Linked DNA regions of Homo sapiens: regions 1 and 3 are each linked to region 2. The links are contacts of gene promoters, found by promoter capture Hi-C in blood cells and fetal thymus (Javierre and others, 2016). All regions are on one chromosome and are shown on one strand. Each heading gives the region's core, a stretch centred on a gene start or on the middle of the fragment in contact. The rest is flanking DNA. Distances are from core to core; before and after follow the strand shown.

What was found. Contacts are between HindIII fragments. The CHiCAGO score rates a contact against its expected background, and 5 or more counts as called.
Region 1: a contact is called between a fragment that was not itself captured here and the fragment with the promoter of PP12613 in region 2, in 1 of 17 cell types (activated CD4 T cells). The highest score is 7.3, in activated CD4 T cells.
Region 3: a fragment that was not itself captured here is called in contact with the fragment with the promoter of PP12613 in region 2 in 5 of 17 cell types (activated CD4 T cells, non-activated CD4 T cells, naive CD8 T cells and 2 more); the score reaches 9.5 in activated CD4 T cells.

The regions. Positions count from the first base shown.
Region 1 is chr4:120,141,242-120,143,941 of GRCh38, forward strand. The region is part of intron 2 of MAD2L1-DT (MAD2L1 divergent transcript); the gene reads left to right. Among named protein-coding and RNA genes, the nearest start is that of MAD2L1-DT, 76 kb to the left of the region's middle. The HindIII fragment of the contact is 685 bases long and covers 1,053-1,737 here.
Region 2 is chr4:121,763,281-121,766,142 of GRCh38, forward strand. PP12613 (a long non-coding RNA gene) reads left to right here and starts at 1,305. Exons shown (of 1, transcript NR_024365.1): 1 at 1,305-2,862. It overlaps SMIM43 (small integral membrane protein 43), which reads right to left and starts at 1,884. Exons shown (of 6, transcript NM_001384332.1): 1 at 1,537-1,884; 2 at 484-592. The coding sequence starts at 1,825. The coding sequence ends at 1,634. The HindIII fragment of the contact is 5,910 bases long and covers 495-2,862 here.
Region 3 is chr4:120,075,717-120,078,416 of GRCh38, forward strand. The region is part of intron 1 of MAD2L1-DT (MAD2L1 divergent transcript); the gene reads left to right. Among named protein-coding and RNA genes, the nearest start is that of MAD2L1-DT, 10 kb to the left of the region's middle. The HindIII fragment of the contact is 1,023 bases long and covers 743-1,765 here.

The DNA of each region.
Region 1 (2,700 bases), core at 145-2,644, 1.6 Mb before region 2:
ATTCTTTCGGAATGCTGGACAAGAGCTCAGGATACAGAAAGCTGTCACACTGGCCCTCTGCCCTTGCAAAAAGGTCCATTGAGCTGGTTAACACTTGTATTAGTCTGTTCTCACACTGCTGATAAAGACATACCTGAGACTGGGCAATTTACAAAAGAAAGAGGTTTAATGGACTCATCGTTCCACATGGCTGGGAAGGCCTCACAATCATGGCAGAAGGTGAAAGGCATGTCTCACATGGCGGCAGACAAGAGAAGAGAGCTTGGGCAGGAAAACTACCCTTTATAAAACCATCATATCTTCTGAGACTTATTCACTATTATGAAAATAGCGTGGGAAAGACCTGCCCCCATGATTCAATTATCTCCCACTGGGTCCCTGCCACAACACGTGGGAATTATGGGAGCTACAATTCAAGATGAGATTTGGGTCTACAGGCTAAAAGAGTGCATTGTAACACACGCCCACTTGGGTTCCTGCATCTGTCCATCTGTGTGCTCCCCCTCCAGTAAGGGGTTTGAGCAGTGGCAGTGACCGAACAGATGAGCCACACCCGTCACATGTCCTGTGATGGGGGTCAGAGAACTCTCCCATTTCAGTGTGATTTCTGATGATCAAGAAATTTCTTTACAAAACAGAGGATGGAAAGGATGCGGCCAAGGACACAGGTTCCAAGTCAAACAGCCTTGGTTTACTACTAATTAAATATGACCTTGAGGAAGTCACTTAGTATTTCCTACCTTGGTTTTCCCATCTGTGCAGTGGGAATAATAATAATAGTCCTTCCTTCTAGGAACGGCATGAGTTATACATGAGAGAATATATGTAAAATTGGTAATTATCTGTATTATATACTTGGTATCATAACTAATTATAGATAGAATTACTTAAAATTACTTGGCATAAAGTACTCAGTATTTGGCTGTTTTCATGACCGCTGTTAACTGACTTGCTACCCTTGGGCAAGACACTTAATTTTTCTGAGTTGTCATTTGCCATGTGTAAAATGCTGACAAATCCCTACTTTGTAAGTTTGCTGGTTGGAGTCTACAAGCTTCTAGCTCATAGTTTATGATTAATATTACATTTTTCTTATTTATGCGCTTTTTGACCTTTATTGCCTTTTCTATTTCACATTATTACTATTATTTTAAAAAACTAAAGTCATTGTCTTTCAGCAGTAATGTTTCTAAATTTGAAGGGTTTGCCCAAAATGAGTGATATATTCATCAATCGTCCCGACTCAATTAGTGACTGAAATACTTCCTTCCGTACCAGCACTATCATTCTGAGGGATGTGGGGCTAACAAGAACCACCTCTTTTTGGGTGATTGGCAGGGAACCTGTAATCCAGGGGTCAATTCCCATGGGGCCTTGCACAATTGACACTACAGGCTGGCTCCTTTTGCTGAATAATCCACAGATGGGCTTCAGAGGCTGCTCCCTTCTGTAGATGAGGAGCTGTGCATGTCAACAGTAGCCTAGGGCTTTGTTCTACAGGGCCTTTGGCTAGCCATCTCAGGGGCTCTCCTGGCACATTACAAGAGATCTCTCCTCTCCTTGCAGATCTCATCCTGCCTTTCCTGGACCCCTGCCCTCCAAGGCCAGGCCTCACCTGTTCTGTCCACCTCACGAGATTCAAGTGTCAGGGTATCTGCCTTTATCTCCATTTTCTCACCTGCCTTTATTATGGCATACAACTCATGCTCTGTTCACCGCAGGGACTTTCCCTGTAAAAGCTTAGTTTGTAAAACTTCTTCTTTGACATCTTGAAAGACCCGAAGCTCCTGTAGGAAATGGAAATACCACTGCGTATTCAGCAAACAGCCATGAGGTGCAAGAAAGAAAGGAAAACCCAACACTGAAGGTGAATATTCCAGGGACTTCTCTCATCACTTGCATGGGGCCACAGTGTTGCTTTATTGTCCTCTAAATGTGTGGTGCCTGAGTCACCGCACCTACTTCACCATCATACCTGATCTTTAGGAATCTCATCAGTTCTGCATTTTAGAAAGCTCTGTAAGCATACTTGGGCCCAAGCTTTATCTGTGCTTCCAAGAACATAATAAAATTGCCTATAATATCTTGGTTCAAGAAATTGAGAAAGCTTCCAACCCCACTGGAAACAAGAAAAATATATTTTTTAAAAAGAAAGAAATTAAGAAAGCTGTTCACATCATTTGGCCCGTAACTCCTATTTCTAACTATATGTTGAATGTCTACTATGTGCTAGGCTCTGTAAAAATGATAGTTGATGTTAGTGGCTCCTGTGAGCTCTGAGTACATTGTCTTATTTAATCCCTGTAATAATCCCAGTGAGTGGGCATGATTACTACCACCATTCTACAGGTGAGGAAACTGGAACTTGCATGGGTTAAACAGAAGGAGGGGGCAGGATTTGGCCTGGAAGGCAGGCCTGCCTGTTAGAAGGCAAATATTCTGTGTTTGACCACTCTGCTCTACCATCTTATTTAACTAGAAGCTGCCTTCTTGGAAATTTTAACTATTTATTAGAAGCCTCTGATGAGAAAGAATGCAAGAAAGGCCCTGACAGCTGTATGCATTCACATAAAATGGTTCATGTTTTATATAAAAAGAACAGCCTCTTATCCCATCACTCCTATAGGCTTAATTTTCTGATTATCCAAACACAGGCAAGGTTACAAAATGTCAAGTTAGAGGATTGGGGACAAAGATGTT
Region 2 (2,862 bases), core at 55-2,554:
CTTTTATATTATCAACTTAGGCAAACTTTAGTATTTCATTGTTTTTAGCCTCTCTATATGGTCTTTGTGTCTAAAATTAGTATTTTCAATACTATAGTTATGACTTAGCTTATCCCACACTGACATGACTAAACCCAAATCTTCCCTTACTGAAGATTGAGTATATCTGCATCACATATTTCACCCCATGAACCCCCGCACTGTTTTTCAAAAGGGCCGAATGATTATTAAAAGTGCAAACACTCCTGACATCTCATTCAAATTTCCACAATCCTCTACTAAGACACTGATTCTTGCAATGAGTTAGGAGTCAGTTTGGCTTTGTGGATCTGGTAGAAGCTCACCAGATTTGAGTGGGAGAGTGCCCTTTCCTTCCTTGTACCCATTTCCCCCATCCTGAACCAACATGTTTTTAGGCCCTGGATCTTTAGAAGTTTAGTCATAACTAAGGCCAACGTGAAACCATGCGTCATCCCAACTTACCATTTGCAGAAAGCTTCCATCTCCCGTTGTTCCAGCCTTCTTTTTGCAGGCCCAAACTGTCATTGCAGCTGTGGTCCCCTGAGCACCAGTCAAGGGCAGCAGCTCGGCTCTAGAAAGAGAGATGACATAAATCTAGGGAAAAGCTACTGAAGGATGAAGATATTTCCCAAACTAACATTAGCGAGAGGGTACTTAGGGCATACTGGTACTCGAGTTTGCTCCTGCCCGCCCATCTTCTGCAAAAGCTCTAGTAATTTAACCTGAAACCACAGACCCGCCTCTCCGTCCTTTTTCCTGTTTCCCTACACTATGCAAACAGTACCTCTTTTAGCTGGCCCTCCATGCCATCACCCAAAAGGTCACGTACCGGCCAACCCTAAGGCATCTTCCAAATGACTCTCACTGTAACGTTCACCATCCGCTGTCCCAGATTCGAAACCTACCCTGCACGGCAATCCGCAAGCACTAACCGTGGTTGGTGGCTAGAATATGAGTAAGGATCACCGGGAGGAAGGGATTCCTCCCTCCAAATGGACGACTGAATCTTCTCTCCCCCACGCCCCACCCCAGCACCACCAGACGAACCCCATTTACCATCTCTCAAAGCGCAAAAATATTTAAAGCAATATTTAAAATACTTTAAGTGCGCCCCGTTTCCTCCTGCCACCCGTCCCAAAGCCCACACAGTCTTTCTCAAAAATGTGGATATTCAGGTTAACCTGCGATTTTGTTCGAAAGTGGCTAAACTGCATTATCCGAATAATTTACTTTTCCACTCCTTGGGTATAACTAAAATGCAGTTGGACAGAAAAGAGCTTGCAGTTGTCCAAAGTCATTCCGGCTCCAAAGGGCGAATTCTCTTTTCGCCATCTCTCCCAGCCCTGGAACAGCTTAGGGTCCCTCTCGAAGAGCACAGCGCCAGCCCAGACCCCATACACCCACCGTCCCTGGCACCCGAACGCGCTGCGAGCCCCGGGCCTCCCACAGGAGCGGAGACGCGGGTCCCTGCGCCTCACGCCGGAACGGACCCGTCAGAGCCGCCGAGCCCCGCACCTGGAAGCTGGGAGGCCGCGAGGACGGAGAATCGAGGCGGAGACCCAGCCCAGCGCCCGCGCAGCTCGGTGCCCTCCCGCCAGTGCCCGCACTCGGGTCACACCGCTTGCTCTCGGGAGAAGCCCCAAGGCTCGCGGTGCACCGAGAGGCGCCCGGGCTGGAGCGCCCCGGCCGTGTTGGCCACGGAGTTCTTCAGCTGCTTGATGACCACGAAGAGCAGGAGGAAAAGTAAGAAGAGCAGGAAGAAGAAGAGCGCCAGGTAGAGCAGCAAGTTGAGTTCCCACTCCATGCTGGAGGCGCCGGCGCTCGCTGGCCCTGCGCGCTCGGCGCGGGCTGCAGCTGGAGGGCGAGCGCGCCGCCCGCACACCCACCTCCCGCACTCCCGCCCCTCGCGAGGGCGTCCCGCTATGGGCGCCGACTCCGGGGTCCGTGCTTTGCCTCCCCCGGCTCCGAGGAAACGCGCCAAGGAGCTGAGGAAATCCGGCGCAGACTCTCCCAGCTGGCACCAAAGCCTTCCGCTTCGCCGAGATCCTCTCAGGTGCTCTTGAGGACGCGAGCGACTTCCCTAGGAGCGAACTTCCGCGGGCACGGACGCCAGAAGAGGTAACAGCTCAGTCTTCCAGGGGAGGTCGGGACTGGTGTTTTGTAAATGATTTAAAAGTTCCACCCCCAACATCCAGTAGGGTCCCTAGCTCCGCTGCGTTCCCAATTAATTTATTTCGTTATATCCCTCCGTTCCTGCTTTCCGAAAGGACAGGGGATGTCATGGCCCAGAGACCCAAAAGAATGAAAGGTGGCAGTGAAGATGGGGTCTGAAAGGCTATGAGATGATTTCGTGCTATGAGGTGTCTGAGTGAATTCCAGTTCGAGCTGTCTTGCTCTTCAGAGTAGCAGATACATTCAGTGTTGAGTGTACTTTTCTATGGACAACAGGTCACTTGGAAACGCATTAAGAATACAATGTATTTCAGAAGTTATATAGCACAAAGATTTCAAATATTGGCCTCAAATTCAGTTTATTTGGTGAAAAGAGGAAAACAAGTTTACTCAAAGTGTTTCTTGAGTCCCTAAAGCCTTTCTGTATCTGGTTGACGTGACCCAAAGCCCATATCGCGCAGCTTTAAAAGCTGTTCAGTGTATCTATTACTGCAGAACAAATTACCCCCAAATTTAGTGGCTTCAAACAGCATAAACATTGATCATCTCTCACAGTTTCTGTGGGTCCGAAATGTGGGAGCACTGGCTGGGTGATTCTGGTGTCGGGTTACTCATGAGGCTCCGTTCAGATGTCAGCCAGGTCTGCCTTCAGCTGAATGCTTGTGTAGA
Region 3 (2,700 bases), core at 4-2,503, 1.7 Mb before region 2:
GGCAGGAGAATGGCATGAACCCGGGAGCTGGAGCTTGCAGTGAGCTGAGATCGTGCCACTGCATTCCAACCTGGGTGACAGAGCGAGACTCCATCTCAAAAAAAAAAAAAAGTTTATTCAAACGTGCTCCTTCCATAACATGAGTGTCTTTTGAAAAACGGAATGGAAGAATGTTAATTTTTCTGAAGTTCTTGTTAGCACAGTACTGCAAAGAGAAAGAGCCAGTAAATCTGGCACAGCTGACTTGCATTTCCTCAGGGTACCAATCATGGCCTATGACTCCCTTTTTTTTCTAAATTTTTAAAACTGACAAATAATAATTGTACATATTTACAGGGTGCATAGTGATGTTGTGGTCTATACAATGTATAGTGATCAGATCAGGGTAATCAGCCTATCTATCATCTTAAACATTTATAATTTCTTTGTGTTTCAAACATTCAATATCCCCATTCTAGCTATTTTAAACTATTATTAACTTGTAGGATGTAGTCATCCTACAAGTGCTGTAGAACACTAGAACTTACTCTTATCTAGCTGTAATTTTGTTTCCTTTAACAAATCTCTCTGTCCTCTCTTTCCGCCTACCCTTCCCAGCCTCTAGTATTCTCTGTTGTACTTTTTACTTCTGTGGGATCAACTTTTTTAACTTCCACATATGAGTAAGAACGTGACCTTCTGACATGGAGACTGTGTGAGTGTGCAATGTCAGTCCATTTTTTGAAATCCATTTTTTTAGTAAAGCTTATTTTCCTAGGTTAAAACATAAATTAAATAGAAGTTGTAACATTCCTTCCTATACTCCCAAAAGGATTGTTTTTTGCATATATTCCACTTTGGAAGCCACTGATTTTGAGGATGTTTGCAGAAACCTTATTGATTAGGGGATGAGGCACCTGAGTTGGGAATAGTAGTGTTCCGTGCTTGTCCTCTCTTCTAGGTAAATATGGAATAGACCTAGTTAGGATGGCTGACCTGCATGCCTATGTGGAAATTTGAAGTATCATTCTTTTTTTTTTTTTTTTTTTTCTGAGACAGAGTCTTGCTCTTTCACCCAGGCTGGAGCGTGGTGGCACCATCTCAGCTCACTGCAATCATCGCCTCTCAGGTTCAAGTGATCCTTATTCCTCAGCCTCCTGTGTAGCTGGGATTACATGCATGCACCATCACACCCAGCTAATTGTTGTATTTTTTAGTGGAGACAAGGTTTCGATGGTCTTGCACTCCTGGCCTCAAGTGATTCACCCACCTTGACCTCCCAAAGTGCTGGGATTACAAGTGTGAGCCGCCATGCCCGGCGTGAGCTATCATTCTTTATAATGGACTTTGCAGAACAATCCTGTAAGGAAAATACATTCTTATTGGGAAGGAGTGCTCCAGACTCTTGAACCCCATCTATTTACCACTGCCCAAAGCACAGAATAAAAGCCATCTTAGGGGTTTCAACAAATCCTGTCATAAAAGTCCACTTAGATCACATAAAAAAAAAAAACTTTATTACTGGTTGCATAATGAGGGAGTGTCATGGTCTTGTCTAAAAGAAGCAGGAATCTCCAAGCAATCTACCAACAGCAGAGATCACATGCAGATATGTCAAAAAAAGATGTTAGCCTAGCATGTTCCAGAGAAACTTCTTAGAAGCAGACTATCTGGACAATTTAAGAAGAATTATATAGGAGTTATTTTCCTTATCGGTAAAATGGATGTAACAATAGTACTTGTCACATATAATTTTTCTGAGTATTACATGAGATAATTTAAATGAAGCTTTGGCTTAATGCTAATATGTTATTGTTATTGTTTTATTATTATATTGTTACTGTTGTTGTTAATAAGACAGCTTTTCACCACTTTTCCACGCACCTTTCCTGGGTTGGTACATGTTTAGTTTAGCATAACTAAAGGAGGCTTTAGATAATACAACTTAAGGCACAGATGAGATAGAAACTCTTATAACATATATAATAATGATAGCCAACATTATTAACCACATACTATCTGCCAGGCACATTTCTATGTGCTTTACAAGAATCATTTTATTTAATCCCTCATTAGCTCAAGAGTTAGATACTACTATTACCTGAATTAAGTTACAGAAGGAAGTTGAATAATTTAGCTAAGGTCACCCAGCTAGGAGAACTGGAGTCAAATCCAAGCAATCTAGATGGTACCAGAATATGAATCCTGAAAGCATCAAAGATCTGACTATATTTTAGATAACTCTAATTTGAGGCAAACTATAGTGGGTCCTTAATATTCCTCCATCCTTGCTATGTAACTCCTGAGACCCATTCAGCAATGGAAACCAATGGAGCTGAATGGCTGGAAAGTCACAGAATTGGAACAAGGAAAATAATCCAAAAGTGGAAGAAAAGAGTCCAAAACTGGAGGAAAAGAAACAAGAGGTAGGATCCAGGGTGCAATACTGGCTCATCTGGCTAAGAGTGGATGGCCAAAAGGGGTACCCTGACTAGGGCTGCAAAAACAGGAATTTTTTAAAAATTTTGTGCTTAAAAGATCTTGTCAATTTTCTACTTAAAAGATCTTCAGTGAACTAAGAGGAGGCATTAAACAAATATTCTGGCCAAGGGATAGAATGGCATTTGAAATAGCCTACTCTTTGTCCTGCCAATTTTATTGATAGCTCAGACAAAAGGAAATGAGAATATGCAATACAGCAGGAATGTAAAAAGATGACAA